Regions from separate parts of the Homo sapiens genome. Here region 1 is linked to region 2. Evidence: promoter capture Hi-C in 16 types of primary human blood cells and fetal thymus (Javierre and others, 2016). All regions are on one chromosome and are shown on one strand. Each heading gives the region's core, a stretch centred on a gene start or on the middle of the fragment in contact. The rest is flanking DNA. Distances are from core to core; before and after follow the strand shown.

Region 1 (5,662 bases), core at 2,671-5,170, 400 kb before region 2:
AATCCAATGACTGGTGTCCCTGTGAGGAAATCACCACATGGAGACACAGACACGCAGGAACAGTGCGGCACGGAGGCGGAGGCAGAAACTGGAGCCACAAGCCCGGGAGTGCGTGGAGCCACCAGAAGTGGGAAAAGGCAGGAAGGATCCTCCCTGGAGCCTGCAGAGGGAGCGTGGGTCTGTCCACACCTTGAGGTTGGGCTTCTGGCCTCCAGAGCTGGGAGAGGCCACGCTGGTGCCGTAAGCCACCGGGTTTGGGAGGAGGGGGCGGCGGGGAGGAGGCTGCAGGCGGAACACCCCAGCACCTGCTCAAACCCAGCTGGGGAGGCCCAGAGTTCCCACTTGCTTTTGGGCATTAGGCAATGGCAAAGTTAAAAGTGAAAATAAACCTGGTTGGAAGTTCTATGAGGAAAACAAGGATTCTAATGATTCACTCACTGGTTCAACACAAAGTGCCACACCAGGCTGAGCCTCCCTGGGAAAGAATAAGTATTAGGACCGAGAAGTTACTGTTCCCTGAGCAGCCTTGTTGTAACAGGAGGCTCCATTTGACTGGGTGTGGCGGCTGCCACCTGAAATCCCAGCACTTGGGAGGCCAAGACGGATCACGTGAGCCAGAGTTTAAGACCAGCCTAGACAATATAGTGAGACCCCATGTCTGCTAAAATAAAAACTTAGCAGGGTGTGGTGTGTGCCTATAGTTCCAGCTACTGGGAGGCTGAGACAGGATAACTCGAGCCCAGGAGGTAGAGGCTGCAGTGAGCTGTGATTGCGCCACTGCACTCCTGCCTGGGAGACAGAGAGAGACCCTGTCTCAAAAAAAAAGAGGCTCTGCTCATCTCACACTGACTCCTGCCACATACCTCACCAAGCCCTGGGCACGCATCTGACCTCTGACCTCAGGGAGGCCATGCTTAGTGCTTAGTGTGAACCCGCTTCTCAGAGGAGATTGAGGCTCAGAGAGGCCATGTCACCTGCTCAAGGTCACAGAGGTACTGAACAGTGCAGCTGGGATTCCAAGCCAAGTCTGTTCCCAGAGCCCAGGTCAAACCACCACACTCACAAGACCAACATCAGGGCTGCCTTCAGGACTTTCAGAATTCTCTCCATTTCCTGAAACCAACTCATCCTAGAACTCTCAAGCCAGGAGCTAGCAGCCCCTTTTGCCGGGGCAGCCACCCTTCCCTCGATCAGCAGCCAGGCCCAGGGAACGCAGGGTGAAATGGACGTCCTCACGCTGGGGTCTACCTATCAGGGAGGGGCCATGGCCCTCAGAAACAAGGTCAGCACCACGAACTTGGCAGCAGAGCCCCAGGAGGGACGCCTCCCCCTCCAGGAACAGAGTGGGGTTCAGGAAAGACCTGAACAGGGACATGGGGGCCAAGGAGGAGGGAAGGGAGGAGACAGCCCTGGGCAAGGCAAGGGGTGGTGGCGCTTGGGCCCATGGTGGGTACGGCAGGAGGACTGCAGGCACCCAGCCCATGCCACGTCCCATCCTGTCCCAGGGATGCCGGCCACAGCGCACCTTCTAACAATCCCACAGGGCAGGGATGTGCTGCACGTGGGCAGCATGCTGCGCTCAGAACTGTCACCATGGAGGCTCTGGGCCTGCAGGGGGTGCCTTCTCAGTCACAGGCACTTCCCTGCGCGTCGCCACGCTCTGCCTCCCTCCACTCAAGTGGGCTCCACTCCACGCCAGGCCTGGTGCACACAGGGGTGCATGAACTCTGTGGAAGGAGGGCCTATGACAGCACCCAGTCTGCCTGGTGTCACCATCCGGTTCTGGACACTCAACATGCAGGACTGAGGGAGAAAGCTGTTTCCATGTCAAACAACAGGGCCCGGGGTTAGGGAAAAGCCCACCACACCTGCGGAGCTCGGCCCGTTGGGGTGAGCCCGCTTCCCCTGGAGTCCACACCTTAGGGCCTTGCCGCTCTGCCCTGGAGAGTCACCACCTTGTTCCATCTCTCCCGCCTTCCTGAAGGAGCTGGCCATGCCAAATGCATGGGGCCTGGCTGCCACATTTGGGCAAATCCATCCCTCTGCCCCAATCATCCCTCTGACCCTCCCTGGAGCAGCGGCCAGGCATGTCCGTGGGGGGACATCTTGTGGACAGGCCTGGGTCTGCAGGCACCCTCAGCCTGGCTACGGCCAGGAACACTTCCAAGGATGGAGTGCACCGCGACCTGCGTGTGACGCAACCTGCATGTGACGTCATAGTCTTTGAGGACAGAGTGCTGTGTTCTGGGCCCAAACTTCCCCAACCAAAGACCTTAGAGGAACCCAATGCCTCCACCTGCCCGAAGGCCAGGGGCGTGGGGCAACTCTGATGACCTCCAGGTAAGCAAGGAGCACGTGCCAGCCTTGACCCAAGAGCTCTGTGTCGGCCCCTTTGCTGCACACCTGCAGGGGCTGCCTCTGGGAACAGCCGCCCAGCAGGCACTTGGACCTGTGGACAGTGGCTCCCTTTGAGAAGGAACCGCAACAAGCAGCCAGTCCTGGGCCCAGAGCCCACAGTCACTCCTGGAGGTGAGGGCTGTGGGAGGCAGGGTCACCCAGGTCCTGTGGTCTCTGGGAGAAGGACACAGGGTGTCGGGCAGCCAGGGGCCATCTGGGCAGGGGGCACACGCTGGACAGGCAGGGCTCATGGTTGGGGTTGCCCTGGGATGGGCTGAGGTGGTTCCCAGAAATGGAATCAAGGCAGGGGGAGCAGTGGAGACCCAGGGTGTGACAGACCCAAAGATACCGAGCTGAGAGTGATGTGGGGAAGGGCGGGGCTCAGCAGGGAAGTGACAGGGAGAGGAGGGGTGCCAGAGACCAGTGGCTGTGGGATGGGAGATGTGGCTGTGCAGGGGCCTCTGGGAACAGGTGTCAGTGACAGTGCCAGGAGGACCCCGGCCCACATGCTGGGTCTGAGGAGGTGGGCATGGACGGTGTGGCCCGGTTCAAAGAATGCGAAGAGATGCACAGGGCTGTCCATGTGTCCCTGTGTCCCGGGCACTGGTACCAGTGGATGGGGGTGGGGGCATGTCCAGAACCCACAGGGCTGGGGGTCTCAGGGGTAATAAGGGCTGAACCCTAAAACCCATTTCAGAGCACTGACAACGTGGAGATCCAGACCCCGTATTCAGGGGCTGGGAGAATTCAGGGGACAATGAACCCTATGTGTGGGGGGTGACAGGGCCTGAGGAAACCCTCAGCCAGCCCAGGAACCCCCAGTTCTGTATCCAGGACTGACAAGGTCCCAGGTGAACCCAACCCCTGTGTCCTGGGCTGATGAGGGCCCAGACTGACCCTGACCCCTGTGTCCTGGGTTGACAGGGGCTCAGGTCACCTGAACCTCTGTCCAGGGCTGACAAGGCCCCAGGTGAACCCAACCCCTTTGTCCTGGCCTCTGTCCAGGGCTGACAAGGCCCCAGGTCACCTGACCCCCTTGTCCTGGGCTGATGAGGCCCCAAGTAATCCTGACCCCTAGTCCTGGGCTGATCCGGCCCCCGTCCCCGTCCCTGTACCCCGCGTCCTGGGCTGACCTGGCCGGGCCCCCACTCACCTCTGGCGCTGCCCATCCAGGCCGAGGCCGGTGGGCACCTGCGTGGGGCTGAGCAGGCCCTGGGGCGCGGGGGTCCTGGCGGGCAGCCCGGTGGGGGGCTCCGGCGGCGGCGGCGCTGGCGGTTCGCGGGCCTCGGCGGGCGGCGGCGGGGGCTTCTCTCCGCCCGGGCCCAGGCTCGGGGGCCGCCCGTCCAGGGAGATGTTGTTGAGGAAGAAAAGCGCGGCCTGGCGGCGCCGCGAGTCCCCGCGCCTCCGCAGCGCCTGCGGCGGGGCCCGAGCGGCCGAGGTCGGCGCGGCGGGTGGCGGGGGCCCGGCGGGGCCGGGGGCCGGGCCCGGGGCTCCACCGGCCGCGGCCGCGGCCATCCTCAGACTGCGCCCGCCGCCGCGAAGCGCCCCACCCCCTGCCCGCGCGCCCGCGCGCCCGCCGCCCATTGGCCGCGGCGCGCCCACATGCAAATGTATCGCCGTCGCGCTCTCCCATTGGCCAGCGAGGTGCCGCGCTCAGGGCGCTCCCCTGGGTCCTAGAGGCGGTCGGACGCAGCAGCAGGGAGTCGGGAGCTGCGCGCCTCCCCGCCGGTTCGAGTCCCCGTCTTGGGACCTGCGGCCGCGGGGCTCTCGCTTTCTGTTCCCTTTGCTGTATGGCGGCCTTCGCGGATGGCCTCCATCGAGCGCACATTTTAAGGCTCCGGACCCAGGGCGGCGTGGGTGAGGCCCCAGCACACTTCCCTGTCCGGAGGTGTGTCTGGGCGGCGCTTCAGCGGGCGCAGGGCGGCCCCTGGAGGAGCCCCACCGCTTCCCGGAAGGGCCCGCGTGCCATCTGGCCTCCTTCATTGACAGAAGGGAACGAGGGTCTGAGTGGAGAAGGCACCTGCTTGGGATCAAAGCCCCAGGCAGAGTCCTGCACTTCCTGCAGTAGCAAAGTGACCTTGAGCCTGCCTTGTGCCCAGGCCTGTTTCCTCTCTGTGCCTGGGTGCCCCTGACTTCAGAACCTGTGAGCCCGTGGCACCGGGATGGTCAGGGCCTGCCTCTGGAGCCCGGGAGCCTGTCTGCAGTCTGGAGGGGAACCCGCTGTATCTTTGTGGAGGGACTCAGGACCTTGCACCCACCTCTGTGTCACCTGCCTGCTCTGTCCAGCTTTCTTTCATGGGTTTACGTATCTTTAAAGAGGGGACAATGATTTCAGCCTCAGGGTACTGTCAGGATGAAACTGGCTCAGTGAGGGGGTCGGGCTGTGGCCGGAGGCCAGGCACATGCAGTGGTCAGTCCGCGAATGCGCTGCAGTACCTCGCACCTGCCCGCATGCGCCCAGCCTCTCCTGTGCTGGGTGCTGGGGACCCGGTGGGACCGACAGGCACAGCGCTGGCCCTAGGAGCACCTGGTGTGTGGGGAGGCAGCATGATGGCCAACAAGGCAGTGGGCGAGTGGGCAAGACAGGGTCTTCATCACCACCCCTAGCATGGGCCCCTGCCCTTCAGGCCCCTACCCACCTCCCGCCTGCCTGCTCCCTCCTGTGGGCCTTCACGGGCCACCATTGGGGCTCACGCAGCATGCAGCACCTCCATTTCCTTTCCCTCCGCCCTTCCAAGTTGGCCTCCAAGGCCTCTGCCAGGCCTAGGGGAAGGTGGGCAGCTGTCCTGTCTAGGAGAACGCGGGGCTGGGTGGCATAGCAGAGGGGTGGCTGCGGATTCTGGATCCACAGAATGGGGTGCTGACTTGTGTGCCTGGGGGCTCCCGTGAGCGGGGAGTGAGTGTGTCCAGCGCTGTAGGGTGCTGAGGCTGGGGCAGGCACACAGTGGGCCCTCCATCCCTGCTGGCTATCACCAGGAGGAGGGGCCTGACAGGGGAGGGTGGGCCATACACCAGCAGCTTGCAGAGAATCTGGTGTCAGATGAGAACAGAAAGGGGCGAGTGAGGGTGGAGGGCAGGACGCAGGAGGCAGGAGGCAGCTGTCCGTGCTGGCTGCAGCGCCGGGTCCTGGGGATCGGCTGTGCAGTAGGGGGGCCCCTAGCCAGTTCTTCTTTGCTGGCGCTAAGCTAGACTTTGAGGGACAAGGAGGAATGCTGAGGAAGGAACGGGGTCTCTTCCTGGGTCTGGTGAACCCCCTTGCTAGGCT
Region 2 (5,146 bases), core at 2,394-4,893:
GCTGGTCTACGGCCTGCCTGAGCTGTATTCCAAGGGTAGAGCAGCTGCCTGGGGGGACCCTGTGGGTCCCTTTTCTATAGAGCCGGGACAAATCCACAGCCCTGCAGTAACAGCCTGCCACAAAGAGCAGGCATCTGGAGGGCCCCACACACATAGACCAAAGGACTGAGCCCGCCTGGCATTCCTCCACTCACAGCACAAATACTCAGCCCTGCAGCCAGGGAAGGGTGGGGTCTCCCTTTGCTGCCCAAGTGTGCCCCCTTGCCCGTCTGATCTCTCCTGTTAGGTCAGCCTCATTCAGGGCTTTGTGCCAGGTCCTGTCCTGGAGTCTCAGTCCGGGACAGCAGCCTGGCTCTTAGGCAGTCCAGAAGCAGCAGGGCAAAGGGGGGCAAATACTAACACGGGGTGTCACGGGATGGCCAGGAGGAGTCCTGCTCGCCACCCAGGCTCACTGTCCTAAACCTCCATCTGAAACCGCATCTCGGGTGACCTCAGATTGTGCTAGGAAAGCCTAGTTAATAAATCTGCCTCATCTCGATTACTGTAACATTTTGCTGCACTTCCAGGAGAAAGCTAGAGCCCACAGGTTAAGCCCACTGGGCAGGTGAGCAGCGTGCCCCCGCCCCGGGCCTCCCTTCTGGACCAGAGGCTGACTGGTTGAAGTCAGGAGCCACGCAGCCCTTATGGACTCACAGGGGCTTCTGGGCTTCCCTGTGGGGAGGCCCAGTTCATGCTCTGCTGGCAGGTGGGATGACCAGGTCAAATTCACAAGTGTCAGGGCAAGGGCGATGTGGCCTCAAGTCCTGGTAAGCGCTGTACTTACCCTCTCCTGGCCCCAGGGGTCCTGTCTGTAACCTGGGGGCTTTATGTAATGCACACTCCACCATGTCATGTAGAAGGTGCCGACTGAACCCCAATCTGAAAAGGAAAACAGCTGGCATGAGGCTGGCCCGTGCACGGACGCTCACGCGCCTGCTGCTGTAGAGGCGAGACGTGGTACACTGTGCACTCGGGACAAGATCTGAACGGGTCAGAAGCCGCCGCTGATGTTGAGCCTGGAAGCCTCAGCAGCGGCTCTACACCTGGAACACGCAGGGCCCAAGAGCACCTGCTGCCGCAGAGACATTTTCTCTATGGCTGGCAGCTGCGGGTGGGGACTCAGTGAAGGCTGAGAGTGGGAGTGATCTGAACTCCCCCGCCTGCCCACCCAGGGCGACCCAGGGGTGACTGGGAAAGGCAATTGGGCTCCACTGCTCCCCAAATAGCAGCGAATAAATACTGAGCGGCAGGGCACTGGCAGCGAGGCTCCCTGCTTGGCTGGTTGATTGAGGACAGGGCATGCTTGGGCCAAATCAGGAGGCTGCCACTGGTCTTGCCTGGAGAAGATATGAAGGCTGTAATCCAAGCTCCCAGCCACACAAAATTCTGCTGGGCTCCTTAGCTGTGAGCATTGCCTGCTCCAGGCACATCACCCACTGCGTGTGCAGAGACCATTGCCCTTCCTGGGTGCCTGGGAGCTGTGTGTGTGTGTGTGTGTGTGTGTGTGTGTGTGTGTGTGTGTGTGTGAGTATGTGACAGAGAAAGAGAGCCCCTTTCCCCAGCCTCAACAGCAAACCCTTCTGGAATGCCGTGCCACACGGGGCGTCACTGGACTGCAGAGGATGCTCTGAAGAAGCAATTCTGTTGCACAGTCCCCTGCAGCAGCTCCTGCACTTCTTGGATTAGCACGCCCCCGAGATGAGCTCTGCACACACACACACACACACACAACACAAAAGCAACTAAAGAAGCAATTTGGTGTGGTGATATTTGTAAAACAGAAGTTGGGCAATGTCTCTAATACTCTTTTTAGGGAAGTGGTTCTATAGTCCTGCCGACAGTAGGTAGCAGCGGGAATGCTGTCCCCGTAGAACAATGTTGTCAGCACCCAGTATGCTTGTCTTTCTGTTTTCTGGGGCAGTGGAGGGGGCAGCCTGACCACCCAAGTCTCAGATCACCCAAACCCTATACAACCACCCAGCACCCATCAATGTCCCCATCAGAGCCCCCCGACTCCACCTCACAGTCTATTCTGATGCTGCAACCAGATCCCACCTGTAAATCATCTAACAAGGAGGTCAGGCAGCTCACTCAGGCTCCCTGGGAAACCTGCCCTGGCCACTGCACTAAGTTGATTTACAGAAATGTCCAGCGCCCCAGAACTTCGGGGCATCACCACTGTCGTTTCAAGAAAGTGTGATGCATGTCCACAGGTTCCAGCCAGGTGAGACTGCACCTGCTAACAGTGGTCAACAGGTCAGCAAAGATTAGGGCCCAGCACCCAGAGGGTCCTTAACCTGTACTTGTGGCCAGGATTGGAAGACTTGCGTTCACGGCTGTCCCTGGCACACAGTACAAGGAATGTCACCAGTTCCCAGGCCCAGCAGGCCTGCAGGGCTAGGAGATGGCAGTGTCCCCTAGGGGCTGGGCTGGGGCCTTCTCCACCTTTCCACCACCATCATTACAGGGACAACTCTGCGAGGAGCTATCCTCATGGCCAAGTCCAAAATCCAGATTTAGTTTTACCTAAATGTTTTGAAATGAATTGGTATAGCAGTTACAGAAGAAATTTATCTGGAGTGGCCACTCCTGATTTTTATTTCAAGAGGTCACCAACCTTGCCATGTATCTGCCAGCAGATGTCAAAGGTGGATGAGCAAGGGACCCGCGGTGCTGGGAAATGGCAGGTGAAAGTGACTTTGTGTTGCCCCATATCTGCCAGTGCTTAGAGAGAGGGCCCTGAGGAGGCGCTGAACTGGCATCAGCTGTGTTGAACAGTCCCCAGGGTGACCCTCCCGGTGGCCCAGGCTTCGTGTGGTCCTCTCCCCTAAGTGCCTTCTTACAACTGAGAGATGGCGGCAAAGGTGAAGGAAGCCACGGCTTGCCCATGTCATCCTGGTTATATAAGACTCGGCACCCTAGAGAGAAAGACTCCCCTGGTGGCTTTGAAAAGAAAACGGCCGTGCTTTGCACTGCCTATGGAGGGACAGGGGTCCGCCAGCAGCTTCCAGGAGCTGAGTAAGGCCCCCAGCCCGCAGCAGAAGGACAGAGACCCCTACACACCCAGCTTAGGGAGAGAGGCCCCTGTGGACACGTGGCCCCTCCGGGGGTTATCCTCCAAGGGACATTCTTCTGATGGGGACATCCTCTGGGGGGATTTCTCTTGGGGGACAGAAATATTCCTGGAAGAGGGGATTCTCTGCGGGGCAGGCATCCTCCGGGGAGAGAATCCTGCTGGGAGGACATCGTCGGGAAGACATCCTTCCTAGGTACCCGGCTCATCTTCCGGGGAGACCGTCCTCTGGGGGGCGGGCAGGCTTTGGGGACATTTTCGGGAGGGAGGATCTCCTAGGGCGGGCATCCTTGCGAGACGGGGTGGGGCGAATCCTCCCGGGTGGGCATCGTGGGGTGGGGGTGGGCGTTCCGCGAGGGGCATCCTCCCGGGCGGACGTTGGGGGATTCTCGGGGGAGGGAGGGGCGCGGGGCGGGCGTCCCGGGGAGGGAGGGGCGTTGCGCGCGGACGCGGGCGGGGCCTGGGCCGCTCCGTCCCCTCCCCCCGCCCGCCCCCCGCGCTTCCTCTGCTTTCGGTTTCGCTTCCGCCTCCAGCGCGAGCCCCGCCGCCGCCGAGCATGGACGACCCCGACTGCGACTCCACCTGGGAGGAGGACGAGGAGGATGCGGAGGACGCGGAGGACGAGGACTGCGAGGACGGCGAGGCCGCCGGCGCGAGGGACGCGGACGCAGGGGACGAGGACGAGGAGTCGGAGGAGCCGCGGGCGGCGCGGCCCAGCTCGTTCCAGGTGCGGCCCCGCGGCGCGGAAGAGGCCTGGGGTCCCCGGCGCCCCCCGCCCGGCTGCGTGGACGGGAGACCCCCCCATCCCGGGCGGAGACACCTGGAGCCTCCTGGAGCTCCCGCAGCCCCGGGGACCCCCCCCCAGACCGGCCGACCCCCAGCCCCAGGGCCCGGCGGGGAAGTGCGGGGGCCGCGCGTGGGTGACAGCGGAGCTGAGCCTCCCGGGCCCCATCGTGTGTGGGCGCCGTTCCCCCCGGGGGTGCCTCGGGCGCGTCCCGCCCCCAGCCGCCGTGGCCGCCCCTGATGGAACCCCTCCCGCCTCGGGCCCGCGCCTCGGCCTCCTGGCGGCCCCTGCGCAGGCCCCGCGGCCTGGGGCTGGGGCTGGGGCTGGGGCTGGGGCTGGGGCCCGGGCCGGGTCTGGCCTGGGAGGCTTCGCGTCTGCACCTGCGGGAGCCCGGGGCGGGCCGACGGGGCCTCCGCTTGTTACTTTTGTTACCGCCGGGCGCCTGTCATCGCCGGGGTTACTTTTGTTGCCGCGCTGGGAACGCCACACTGTCGCAGTCCGGCCCCCCTGTCGGGGAGCTGGGATTGATCTGGGAGCGGCCTTCCAGCTGAGCTGCCCGGGTTGCGGAGGGCCGGGAAGTGCATGGAACTCGACGGCTCCGCATGGATTCTCCCCTTGGCACCCAGCACTGTTTGCGTTTGCGCCTGGCCATGGTGGAGCGGGCAGTGAGAGAGCACGGAGGGGCTCCGCCCTGTCGCCGGGAGGGCAGCGGCCAGGCAGGCTGGGCAGGGGGGTGGGGTCTGGCTCTGTCCCACAGGACGGTGTGACCCCTGGGTGGGCTCTTGACGGGCTTTCCTCACTGGAGTTCCTCAGGCCGCTCTCCTGAAGCGGTGCTCAGAGGCCCTGACCATCCTGCCAGGCGCCCGTGACCCCTGACCTCTTCCCTCTGCCTCCTGCTGTGGCTTCTGTCCACAAGCCCCTCCCCTTCCCCTTTGGACCCCTCAGGCCTCCCCAGCTGCCTGCGCTGGACCCTGGCGGGGCTGTTTCACTTTTTCCTGGGCAGTGTCATGTATGCACCTGTGGGCTGACTGTGTGGCCACATCCAGTCAGGACCCAGCCTCCAGAACTGACCCAGGGAGGCTCCCGCTGGCCCCAGGAAGGAGAAGTAGAAACTGATGATCAGGCGGGGCGAGAGAACCACACCAGCGGCCCTGTTGAGAAATCAGGCCGAGAGGTCGGTGGCGGTGGCTCAGGCCTGTAATCCCAGCACTTTCGGAGGCCTGGGCAGTCGGATCACCAGAGGTCAGGAG

The links. Contacts are between HindIII fragments. The CHiCAGO score rates a contact against its expected background, and 5 or more counts as called.
Region 1: the fragment with the promoter of CABLES2 here is called in contact with the fragment with the promoter of OGFR in region 2 in 1 of 17 cell types (megakaryocytes); the score reaches 5.4 in megakaryocytes.

What each region holds. Positions count from the first base shown.
Region 1 is chr20:62,403,365-62,409,026 of GRCh38, forward strand. CABLES2 (Cdk5 and Abl enzyme substrate 2) reads right to left here and starts at 3,921. Exons shown (of 10, transcript NM_031215.3): 1 at 3,551-3,921. The coding sequence starts at 3,912. LOC105372709 (a long non-coding RNA gene) reads right to left here and starts at 3,530. Exons shown (of 2, transcript XR_936967.3): 1 at 1,526-3,530; 2 at 1-160. RefSeq lists a silencer at 3,838-4,087. The HindIII fragment of the contact is 20,791 bases long and covers 1-5,662 here.
Region 2 is chr20:62,801,192-62,806,337 of GRCh38, forward strand. OGFR (opioid growth factor receptor) reads left to right here and starts at 3,644. Exons shown (of 7, transcript NM_007346.4): 1 at 3,644-3,839. The coding sequence starts at 3,669. OGFR-AS1 (OGFR antisense RNA 1) reads right to left here and starts at 4,396. Exons shown (of 3, transcript NR_102430.1): 1 at 4,277-4,396; 2 at 824-918. MRGBP (MRG domain binding protein) reads left to right here. Exons shown (of 5, transcript NM_018270.6): 5 at 1-538. RefSeq lists an enhancer at 3,417-4,322 and silencers at 3,838-3,907, 3,988-4,137, 4,198-4,367, 4,518-4,577. The HindIII fragment of the contact is 9,717 bases long and covers 1-5,146 here.